Regions from separate parts of the Homo sapiens genome. Here region 2 is linked to region 1. Evidence: promoter capture Hi-C in 16 types of primary human blood cells and fetal thymus (Javierre and others, 2016). All regions are on one chromosome and are shown on one strand. The core of a region is centred on a gene start or on the middle of the fragment in contact, and the rest is flanking DNA. Distances in the headings are between cores, read along the strand shown. Region 1 holds the start of ECHDC1 (ethylmalonyl-CoA decarboxylase 1). Region 2 overlaps MED23 (mediator complex subunit 23).

What was found. Contacts are between HindIII fragments. The CHiCAGO score rates a contact against its expected background, and 5 or more counts as called.
Region 2: a fragment that was not itself captured here is called in contact with the fragment with the promoter of ECHDC1 in region 1 in 2 of 17 cell types (naive CD8 T cells and total CD4 T cells); the score reaches 7.3 in naive CD8 T cells.

The regions. Positions count from the first base shown.
Region 1 is chr6:127,342,359-127,347,697 of GRCh38, reverse strand. ECHDC1 (ethylmalonyl-CoA decarboxylase 1) reads left to right here and starts at 4,089. Exons shown (of 6, transcript NM_001002030.2): 1 at 4,089-4,362. RefSeq lists enhancers at 2,183-3,056, 3,931-4,804. The HindIII fragment of the contact is 1,394 bases long and covers 3,759-5,152 here.
Region 2 is chr6:131,621,476-131,626,669 of GRCh38, reverse strand. It overlaps MED23 (mediator complex subunit 23), which reads left to right. Exons shown (of 29, transcript NM_004830.4): 4 at 1,681-1,805; 5 at 3,208-3,319; 6 at 4,691-4,789. Among named protein-coding and RNA genes, the nearest start is that of MED23, 4.2 kb to the left of the region's middle. The HindIII fragment of the contact is 726 bases long and covers 1,497-2,222 here.

The DNA.
Region 1 (5,339 bases), core at 2,840-5,339:
AGGGACAAGTGAAGAAAATCATAATATCTGAGTCTGGTTTATCTTCTTCCCATCCCCGCTTTTTAGAGTAAAAAGGTATTTTGTGCTTCAGAGAGAAAACCCCTTAAAAACTTATTGCATTGAGTCTAGGCCACAAACAACAGATTGAAAATAGAATACATGATACTCAAAGCTGAAATATATAAAAAAAAAAAAGTAAAATCACATCACACGGTAGTGTTGAAACATTCAAGTGTGTAAATACATGTCGACATCCTTTGTTCAGAATGAGGAAATACTTGAAGTGTAAAAACTTATTACTAATCATTGTTTCTCAATTTTGACTTAAGGGCTATTTGTTCAGAATAAAATATATGGAACTAAGGCCAAGAATTTGTATGTTTACCTAATGTGACTTGTGTTTGCCAATGTTTGAGAACCTCAGTGTTTGTCAAGAGGCCTAGGAATTCATAAACATAACAAAAGTAACTGGCTTTACCTTAACCTAATATGCCAACTCCCAAAATTATGCCAAACTTGCTTTACTTGTCATCATAGCACTTAATACCCCCCAACATTATATATTTTTGTTTCATTTTTGACACATAACAATTTTACTTATTTATGGGATATGGTGATATTTTAATGTTATTTAGCAAAACCATCACCTCATGTATTTACCATTTCTTTGTAGTGAGAACAACCAAAATCTTTTCTAGCCATTTTGAAACAATGTTGTTAACCACAGTCATCCTACTGTGCAATAGACCGCCAGAATTTATTCCTCCTAACTGTAACTTTGTACCCACTGATTAATCTCTTCTCAGCCTCTGATAACCACCATTTTATTTCCCACTTCTATGAGATCAACTTCTTTGGATTCTACACCTGCATGAGATCATGTGATATTTGTCTTTCTGTGCCTGGCTTATTTCACTTAATGTTCTCCAGGTCCATCTATGTTGCCACAAATGACAGGATTTCATTCCTTTTAATGGCTGAATAGTATTCCATTGTATGTATATACCACATTTTCTTTATCCGCTCATCCACTGATGGACACTTAGGTTGATTCCATATCTCGGCTCTTATGAACAGTGCTGCAATAAACATGAGAGTGCAGATATCTCTGCAACATACTGATTTTACTTCCTTCAGATATATACCCAGGCGTGGGATTGTGGGATCATATGGCAGTTTTGTTTTTAATTTTTTGAGGAACCTCTATACTGTTTTCTATAATGGCTAGAGTAATTCAAATTCTTTTGTTTATTTATTATTTTTTTGAGACGGAGTCTCGCTGTGTCACCCAGGCTGGAGTGCAGTGGTGTGATCTCGGCTCACTGCAGCCTCTGCCTCCCAGGTTTAGCTGGGACTACAGGCATGTGCTGCCATGCCTGGCTAATTTTTTTGTATTTTTAGTAGATAAGGGGTTTCAGCATGTGGGCCAGGATGGTCTTGACCTCCTGACCTCGGGATCCGCCCACCTCAGCCTCCCAAAGTGCTGGGATTACAGGCGTGAGCCACTGCATCTGGCCAGTAATTTACATTCTTACCAACAGTGTATAAGTATTTCTCTCCACATATGCATGGGCATGTTATTTTTTGTCTTTTTGATAATAGCCATTCTAACAGGTATGAGGTGATATCTCATTGTGGTTTTGATTTGCATTTCCCCTATGATTATTTTTATTTATTTTTAATTTTTTAAAAATGTATGTATTTGTTTTTGAGAGTCTTGCTCTGTCACCCTGGCTGGAATGCAGTGGTGTGATCATGGCTCACTGCAGCCTCAAGCTCCTGGGCTCCAGTGATCCTCCCACCTCAGGCTCCTGAGTAGCTAGGACTATAGGTGTATGCCACATTGCCCAGCCAATTGTGATTTTTTGTAGAGACAGGGTTCTGCCATGTTGCCCATGGCTGGTCTTGAACTTCTGGGCTCAAGCAATCCACCTGCTTGGCCTCCCAAGGTGTGGGATTACAGGTGTGAGTCACTGTGCCTGGCTGAGCATTTTTTCATATATTTGTTAGTCATCATCATGTTTTCTTTTGAGAAATGTCCATTCAGGCCTTTTGCTCATTTTTAAATTGGATTTTTTTTTTTTTTTTTTTGGCTATTGAGTTGACTTCTTCATATACTCTGGATATTAACCCTTTGTCAGATATATAGTTTGCAAATATTTTCTCCCATTCTGCAGGCTGTCTTTTCACTCCGTTGATTATACATATTATGTATTTACTTATCTTTCATTGTCCACCTACCCCACTATATAGAGTTTAACTTGGATATTTTCCCAAAGTGTTAAAAAGAAAGATGGAAAATGGGAGCCAGAAATAGAAAGCCCACTGAGTACTACAGTTATCACTGAGAAAGAAGAATGAAAGTTATTACTGAAAAATAAAACTGAAGAAACCTCTCAGATGGGCCTGGTGCCTGGGTCCATGGGGACAAAAGTGGAACATCAGTCTAGCAGTCTAGTCTGGTGCTGGGGAAGACCTAAAGCCTGATTCTTCAGAGGCCATCATGGAGGCTGGGTTTGTGGGTGGTAGCCTGTAGGCTAGGCCCTCTGGGGTAGTTCTGGTGCCAGGGTCTACTGGGGTAGACCTGGACCTTGGGTTTGTTGGAGCAGGCCTGGAACCTGGGTTCACTGGAACCTGGGGCTGTAGGGACCAGCAGTCAGTGGACCTAAAGCCTATATCCACTGGTGCCAACCTGGAGACTGGGGCTGTAGGGCCCAACCTGGTGTTGGAGCCTGGTGCCTGAAACTATGGGGACCAACATGGGGAATGGAGTGGGCATAGATCTAGGCGCCATGGAGATTAGCCTAGCATTGGGGTGATCTTGGAGTCTCAGTGAAATGGCTCAGTGATCTTGGAGTCTCATTTTATAACAAACTAGAATTAAATACAGTACTTCTAATAATGACTTCTTCCAATTAGTCCAAACTGGGCTCCCACTTATTCCCTATCATACACATCTCCGTATCGTAAAACTATCCTCCCTGTTCGGCGCGTTGGCACATTCTGTTCCTCCGACTAGAATATTCCCTGTACTTATTCAAATCATACCTATGACCACTGCAGAACTCCAGGAACATGACCATCCCATCTAAACCCCTGCGTTCAGAGACTTGACCAAACTCTAGCAAGCTTTAGCAGCATAAGGCCCTGTGCCCAGGGCGACTGCCTCAGAAAGCTTAACTACGTGATGTAACCAGCACACAACTGATGATAGGTCTCTGACATCCCTTTCTTAGAACGTTTACTAAAGGGCTTGCAATTGTAAAGACTTATTTCTTGCCACTCAGAAGTTCTCTCTCAAGGACCAGAGAGTCATTCCTTTGAAATGTAATCGAGAAGGATAAAATCCTCCGTAGGAGGATAGAATCCTGCGGTAACTGTTAAAACGCGCGCACACACAAACACACAGCTGGCCTAATCACATTTACACTAACAACTCTGTAGGTTCACTTTCTCTACTGAGCGCCCGCATATCCCCTTTCTCCTTTTAAAACGTCCCTTTAAAAATGCCCAGATGATCTCTGCACGAATCGAAATAGAGCTCAGCTCTTTCCTGTCAGTAGTTAACTGAATGTTTTCACCGCTTTAACGTCCAGCTGCGCTTATCTTTGACATCGACTACCTAAGGTCTACCTTTAGTCCCACGACTCTGACAAAATGATCTCAATATTGGTGTAAAATCACCTCCCCTTTCAAGGGTCTTCCAAAGCACTTCCTGTCTGCGGCATACAAAATGTATTGGCACGGAATTTTAAGCTTACTGAGCTTTATAAACACGTCACATTCACACATTCAAGACACACACTGGATATTCGGATAAAAACAAACAAACAAAAAACTGGCTAAATACCCATTCCCCTCAATAACTTGGATAAGATACCTAAAAAAGGTCGACCTTCGGTACCTTTCTGTCTTCTCCCCTCTCGCTATTTGCCTACACTGGCTTCCTCACCTCCACTTTTTCTCACGTTTATCTGAGCGAAAACAAGCACGGTTCGGCAGCCTCCTTTCCCAGCCCTACCTTTGTGCTGCAAAAGCGAAAATTCAAAAGCCAAGTACAATAGGAGACCGCCCACCCTGGCTCCCTCGTGACACGAGGGAGCGCGAAGCGGAGGGCGCCTCGCGGCAGGAGCGGGATTTCCGGGGTCACGGGAACCGGCAGGGGAACGGGATAAAGTTCCCGGAGAAAGGAAAGGAGAGCGTGGGATAGTAAAAGAGAAGACGCGGAGAAGAGGAGAGGACCTACAAGAACGGAGGACAGGGGCGCACGATGGTCCCGGGGGGAGCGGAAACAAAGGCACGCAAAACGGAAAAGCGTGTGTAGGGGAGCGGAAAAGGAAGTCACCACCGTGGCCTGCGACGGTAAGTGGTCGTAAGGGTTGGTCTTAGCGCTTCAGTTTAGTGTTGTCAGTGGGAGAATCCTAAAATGTCGCCGTGGAATGGACTGTACCGCTCGCTTCTCCAAACGTGTCCCAGACGGCGAGCCTCCCCGGCTCCGCGGCTTGTCCCTTGCAAGCGCCGCGCAGGCCTGCCCCGCGCTGGACGTGGAGACGCGGTGCCGAGCGCCACGGGCCGGCTGTGCGCCGGCCGGGGAAAGAGGGCGAGGGGAAGAGATGAATCGGTCTTCCCAGAGCGCGCCGCGAGGTCGCGAGATTACACTTTAAAAAGCATGAGGAGGCTTGCTTTCTACATGCTGATTTAATTTCGGAATACATTCGAGGCCCTGTGCTAAGTTAGGTAATGTTCCCTATAATTGTCTTTTATGTATAAGTTGTCTTGCCTAACTAAAACTTTTCTTACTTGTATCGTGCAGCCAACTTTTCAAGAACGAAAGATGAGCAACTCCTTTCTGGTAGAGGTTCTTTCATTGGAGAATTTTTGAGCTACAATAATCCTTTTAACGCTGCGCACACATACAGGGATTACACGTGTAGGGGATTAAAAACACAGTTAAGTTTAGGTTGAAGGTGCTGTTAAGGACTTCAGGCAACATTAAATCAACACTCAGTTCTTTGCTCTGTTCCACATCTGGGCTCCTGTATAGCAGTTGTTGCTCTAGGTGCTAGAGGTATGCAGAGGAACTGGACAAGGGCAAGGAAAACAAAGGGCTCCTTCTTTAGAAGAGCTAGCATTCTCTTGGAACAGACAAGCTTGTGGTGAGAAGTATATTTGTGAAATCTACGAGGGGAGGGAGCAGCGCAGTAATAGAACGGGCGATCCTTTCTTGATTTTTTATTGGGTTCTGGCCTGAAAGGCGACTGTATAATCAGCTGGGATTCCTGCAATGATTAACATTCCAGGAAGGGAAGCCAGCCTGTGAAGAAGCATGGCATTGAAAC
Region 2 (5,194 bases), core at 610-3,109, 4.3 Mb before region 1:
CAGGTATAAAAGGGTGGATCCAATAACTAGTCTCTTTCTCTTCTCTTACCTGTTATTTTTTCTGTCTGTAGCCAATATCCTCAGGTTATGTTTTCTTCTAGAAGTATTTTATGCATATAGAAACACTTTTATAGCATGATCATATACCATGTACACTGTTCATTAATTAGCACTTTTTTTCTCCTAATAATAATCTACAGGTAATTCCCTATCAGTCCAAGCGTTACTTGTTCCTTCCTTTCTTACTTTTTTTTTTAAATAGCAGCATAATATTCCATTGTATGGCTGTACCTTCCTCCTTTTAACCAATCTTCTACTGTCTTCTAAGTTTCTTCTTACTTTTTCTAATTTAACCAATGCTGTGATGAATAATATTATGCATGAAAAATAGGATAAATTCCTAGAAATAGTATTGCTGAGTCAAAAGCCTTATCAGTTTGTAATTTTTATAGAAATTATTAAATTTTCCATAAGGGTTATACTAGTTTATGCTTCCACCAGCAGTGTTTGAGATTATCTTTTTCTTTTCTTTTTTTTTTTTTTTTTTGGAGACAGAGTCTCACTCTGTCGCCCAGGCTAGAGTGCAGTGGCGTGATCTTGGCTCACTGCAACCTCTGCCTCTCGGGTTCACGCCGTTCTCCTGCCTCAGCCTCCCGAGTAGCTGGGACTACAGGCACCTGCTATCACGCCCGGCTCATTTTTTGTATTTTTAGTAGAGACGGGGTTTCATCGTGTTAGCCAGGTTGGTCTCGATCTCCCGACCTCATGATCTGCCCACCTCGGCCTCCCAAAGTGCTGGGATTACAGGCATGAGCCACCGCGCCCGGCTGAGAGTATCTTTTTCTTATAACCTCACAATAGAGTGTTAAGCTTTTTGATCTTTGCCAATCAAAAACATGAGAAATTTTATCTCAGTATAATTTTATTTTGCATTTCTCTCAGTGATGTTGAATATCTTTCCAAAATTTAAAAAAAAATTCATTAAACACTTTATGAATTATGATGTGGCCCTCTAATGGAGAGACCAGGAAGAAAATAGGTATTTCCAAATCATTGTTATATGTGCCACAATAGAAGTATGTATGAGAACAGTGGTTGTGGAGAGAAGCAGAACATTATAGGCTCTTTTTGGAGATAATCCTAGAAGACAAACTTTGATACGGGCACAACATTTTGACATCGTATTTAAAGTTTTGCCAGTCTAGAAATGTGACATGTCATTGGATTCATAATGGGCTCTTGTTTGGGATCTTAGGGATTGGATTCACACCTAATTCTCCTAAGCCTGATACATACTGATCCATAATGAATTTTACCCCCAGTGACAGTAATATTTATATATGCCATAAAGGGCACTGTTTACAATGCCTTACAACAATCTGTGTTAAGAGTTTTCTATTGACCGTTAATATGTTAACTAATTAATTACTACTTTTGAAGTTCCCATGTAATAAAAATGGTAGCATTTTATCTATGTAATTACAAAATGTTAAGCTTAATGTGACAAATACTAAATCTGAATTTTTTAATTTTGCTTTTTTTAAAAATTATTTTCATCCACAGATGCTCATAGTGAAGTATTTCTTTCATAGTATTGGTATACTTCCAGTTGTAGTATTAGCTATTGGTTATAAAAATGTAACTTTAGACCCCAAGTAAAATCATTCTCTCATTTTCCAGGAGTCTCATGAACAGTGTATCCAGTGGATTGTTAAGTTTATTCATGGTCAGCATAGTCCTAAAAGAATTTCTTTTCTTTATGACTGCTTAGCAATGGCAGTTGAGACTGGTCTCCTTCCACCCAGGTACGTTTAATGGGTATGAGCAATCTGAAGAATTTTCTTTTCTATATGTGATTGGAAATTGGTTGAGGTTGTTGTTGTAAAAAGGTAAGAGAATGAAGAAGAAGGTGAGGTTTATCAAGTAATCCTTTATATAATACCTCAGGTTTTAGTTTCTAGGAGTAATAGTCTTTGAATTAGGTAATGCTTGTGGGCTCAAAACCAGATGTTTCTGCCCAGGGGCTGAAATTAATCACTTTAATTAGTTTGTAACCCTTTACTTTTGCTGCACAACCTCAACACCTTATGGCTTAAAACAGTAATACTCAGGTTTTAAAATTATTCATGGTTTTAGTGGTTGACTCGGCTTAGGAGACACTTTTTACTCAAGGTCATAATGATTGTGATCAATGTGGCTAGGGCTGGAGCATGGCAAAAGCTTCCCCACTCAGATATCTGGTGGTTGATTCCTGGCTGTCATCTGGAACCTCAGCTGGGATTATTAGCCAGAACCTCCGCAGGCCCTCACCTTGTGGCCTAGACTTTCTCACCTCATGGTGGAGCCTAACAGCAAGTGTGCAAAAGAGGGCTAGGCAGAAATTGTATCACCTTGTCTTCTTGGAAGTCATACTGCATCCTTTTGGCCATAGTCTTAGGTCTGCCCAGATCTAAGGAGTGAGAACGTAGACTTTCCCCCTACCTCTCCTTGGGAGAAATGTCAGTGTCACATTTCAGAAGAAGATGTGGGATCAAAAATCTTGTTGCCATCCTGTTGGAAAAATCCAGTGTACCACAAGGTGATAGATGGTAAACATCTAACCGAAAGCTTTAGATAGACTTCTTTCTAGTAAAATATAACATAATGAATATTATTTCATTCTTACTTTGTTTTTGATCTTTCATACAAGTAAAAAATGTAAAATACTACACAGATTTATAAGTGTGCTTAGTAATCACTTTTATGAAAGACACTTGTGAGGATAAATATAATACAGTGCACAGACTATGGCTGTATTAGTCTGTCTGATGCTGCTAACAAAGATATACCCGAGACTGGGTAACTTATAAAGGAAAGAGGTTTAATTGACTCACAGTTTGGCATGGCTAGGGAGGCCTCAGGAAACTTAGAATAATGGCAAAAGGCACCTCATCACAGGGTGGTGGGAGAGAGAATGAGTGCCCAGTGAAGGGGGAATCCCCATATAAAACCATTAGATCTTGTGAGAACTAACTCACTATCATGAGAACAGTATTGGGGGAACTGTCCCTCATGATTTAAATGGTTTTTCTCATGACACGTGGGGATTATGGGAACTACAATTCAAGATGAGATTTGTGTGAGTACACAGCCAAACCATATTGGCGGCTATTAGAGAACTTGGAAAATTCTGTCTTGTAACTGGAATGGCTATTTCTTTTTTTATAGGCTGGTTTGTGAATCCCTGATAAACTCTGACACTCTTGAGTGGGAAAGAACACAGCTTTGGGCCTTAACATTTAAACTGGTTCGGAAAATAATTGGGGGAGTGGATTACAAGGTATATTTTTCTTATTATAAAAAGTGATTGCTTTCAGATATGATTGATTTTTCGGTGTGCATGTCTTATTTTCAGGTGAGAGAAATGATGTGGAAGCATTTACAAAATCTGTCTATTTCTTGTGGTATATTTCCTGAAAAGATTTAAAGTTACTCAGTTGTTTCCCTGGCTCCGCTACTCCCCTCCCAACATTCTTATAAATACAGGTAGCTGATACATTTTTATGAAGAGCAGGGAAGTCACAAAGCAGAATCCGTGTTCCTTCATGCTGCAAGTATTATGATCCCTTCAAATGAAAGCACAGAGCAGGGGTGTGTGGAACTGAGAAGGGATGTAGGCATCACTGATGAAGGGAGCAAGACCTGGCTTCACTTCTCTTGAACGTGGGTCTTACCTCAATTAATATCTTCAGCACTTTGGGCTCTTGACCAAAAACAACATACACTTTCTAGTTTTGTCTCATAAAACGGCTTAGGGACTCCATAGCTACAAAAGCCATTCTGCATCTTCAGGAGACTTTTGTTATTGTCCTTTTCCCGGGAATTACCAGTGTCTGACCCTGTGCTTTATTTCTGCATTTTCTCTAATCTGAAATGATTTAACAGGTAATGACCTAACAGATAATTATTAGTTTAAATCATGATTTATCACACAGTTAACTCTAAGAAGCTTTTGCTAATTATTTTCTCTTTACTCAGACTTATGCAATTTTCTTATTTGTATGATACTTCATAATTGTTCTTTTAGGTATATGTTCTGTCTTTTACAAGCTTGGTTACGTAGTTCATAGTCAATAAATAAATGTTGAATGAAATTTCTTCTTTATATATCAGATAATGTAACTGGTATTGGATATGTGGAAATGATTAACAGAATAGCCTTGGATATCCTTGAGAGATTAAGGTATGTGATGGATGAGAAGGGAGAATAGGCCAGTCACAGTGGCTTACACCTATAATCCCAGCACAAAAGGGAGTGAGCAGAAACAGTCCTCTACCAAAAAGTTTGATATTGTTACTCAAGTTTTCAGAGTGCATTGAAGTCTTGTTACAATATATTTCTGTCTATATGTATAATTAAGGTTTTTGACCCTTGTAACAACGTAAACCCTTCTAATGTTATGAGGGCCAAAAAAGCTTGACAAACTGTATAATGACTTTCTTTGCTCATTGTATTTTAAGACAGTCTTTAGAACTCTGTTTTGGAACATGACTCTTCTGTTGGGTTAATGTTAGGGACTTAGATTGTAACTGATTCAGAAAATTTAAAGGTGTGACCTTGAAGGAATATATCACCCTGAAACCTTCGGACGTTTTAGCTAACACAGTAGACACTACTTAATTTTAACCCATGTCTTTTTTCTTATATCAGGGTGTTCGAGATCTCTTAAAAGTGATTTTGGAGAAGATTTTGACAATTCCTAATACAGTGAGCTCTGCTGTTGTACAGCAGCTTCTGGCAGCAAGAGAGGTAATTTAGACATGTCTGAAATTCGTGATCATAACCTCAAAAAAGTCTAGCTTTGTTTAGGTCTGTGCTTTTAATACTTACGGTATTTTGTGAGATGCTCTATTTCTTCTACCAAAAAAAAATCACTTCTATTTTAAAAGATGCTAGTTCCCTTATATTTCAAAAGGACATTTTAAATTTTAATTCATGGTTTTAAATTATGAAAACAATGAAATAGAAATTAAAATAGCTTAAACATTACAAGACCTTAGCATATGGACCACTTAAAAGATCTTTGTACTTTGTAACTAGTATCGCAAGAATTGTTACGTTGGTCTGTTGCACTCCTGTTTAAGTGTGCCAATATTTAAAGCATGTGCAAGGTTATTTACTAACCATGAACAATCCATTCCATTGTTTATTAAT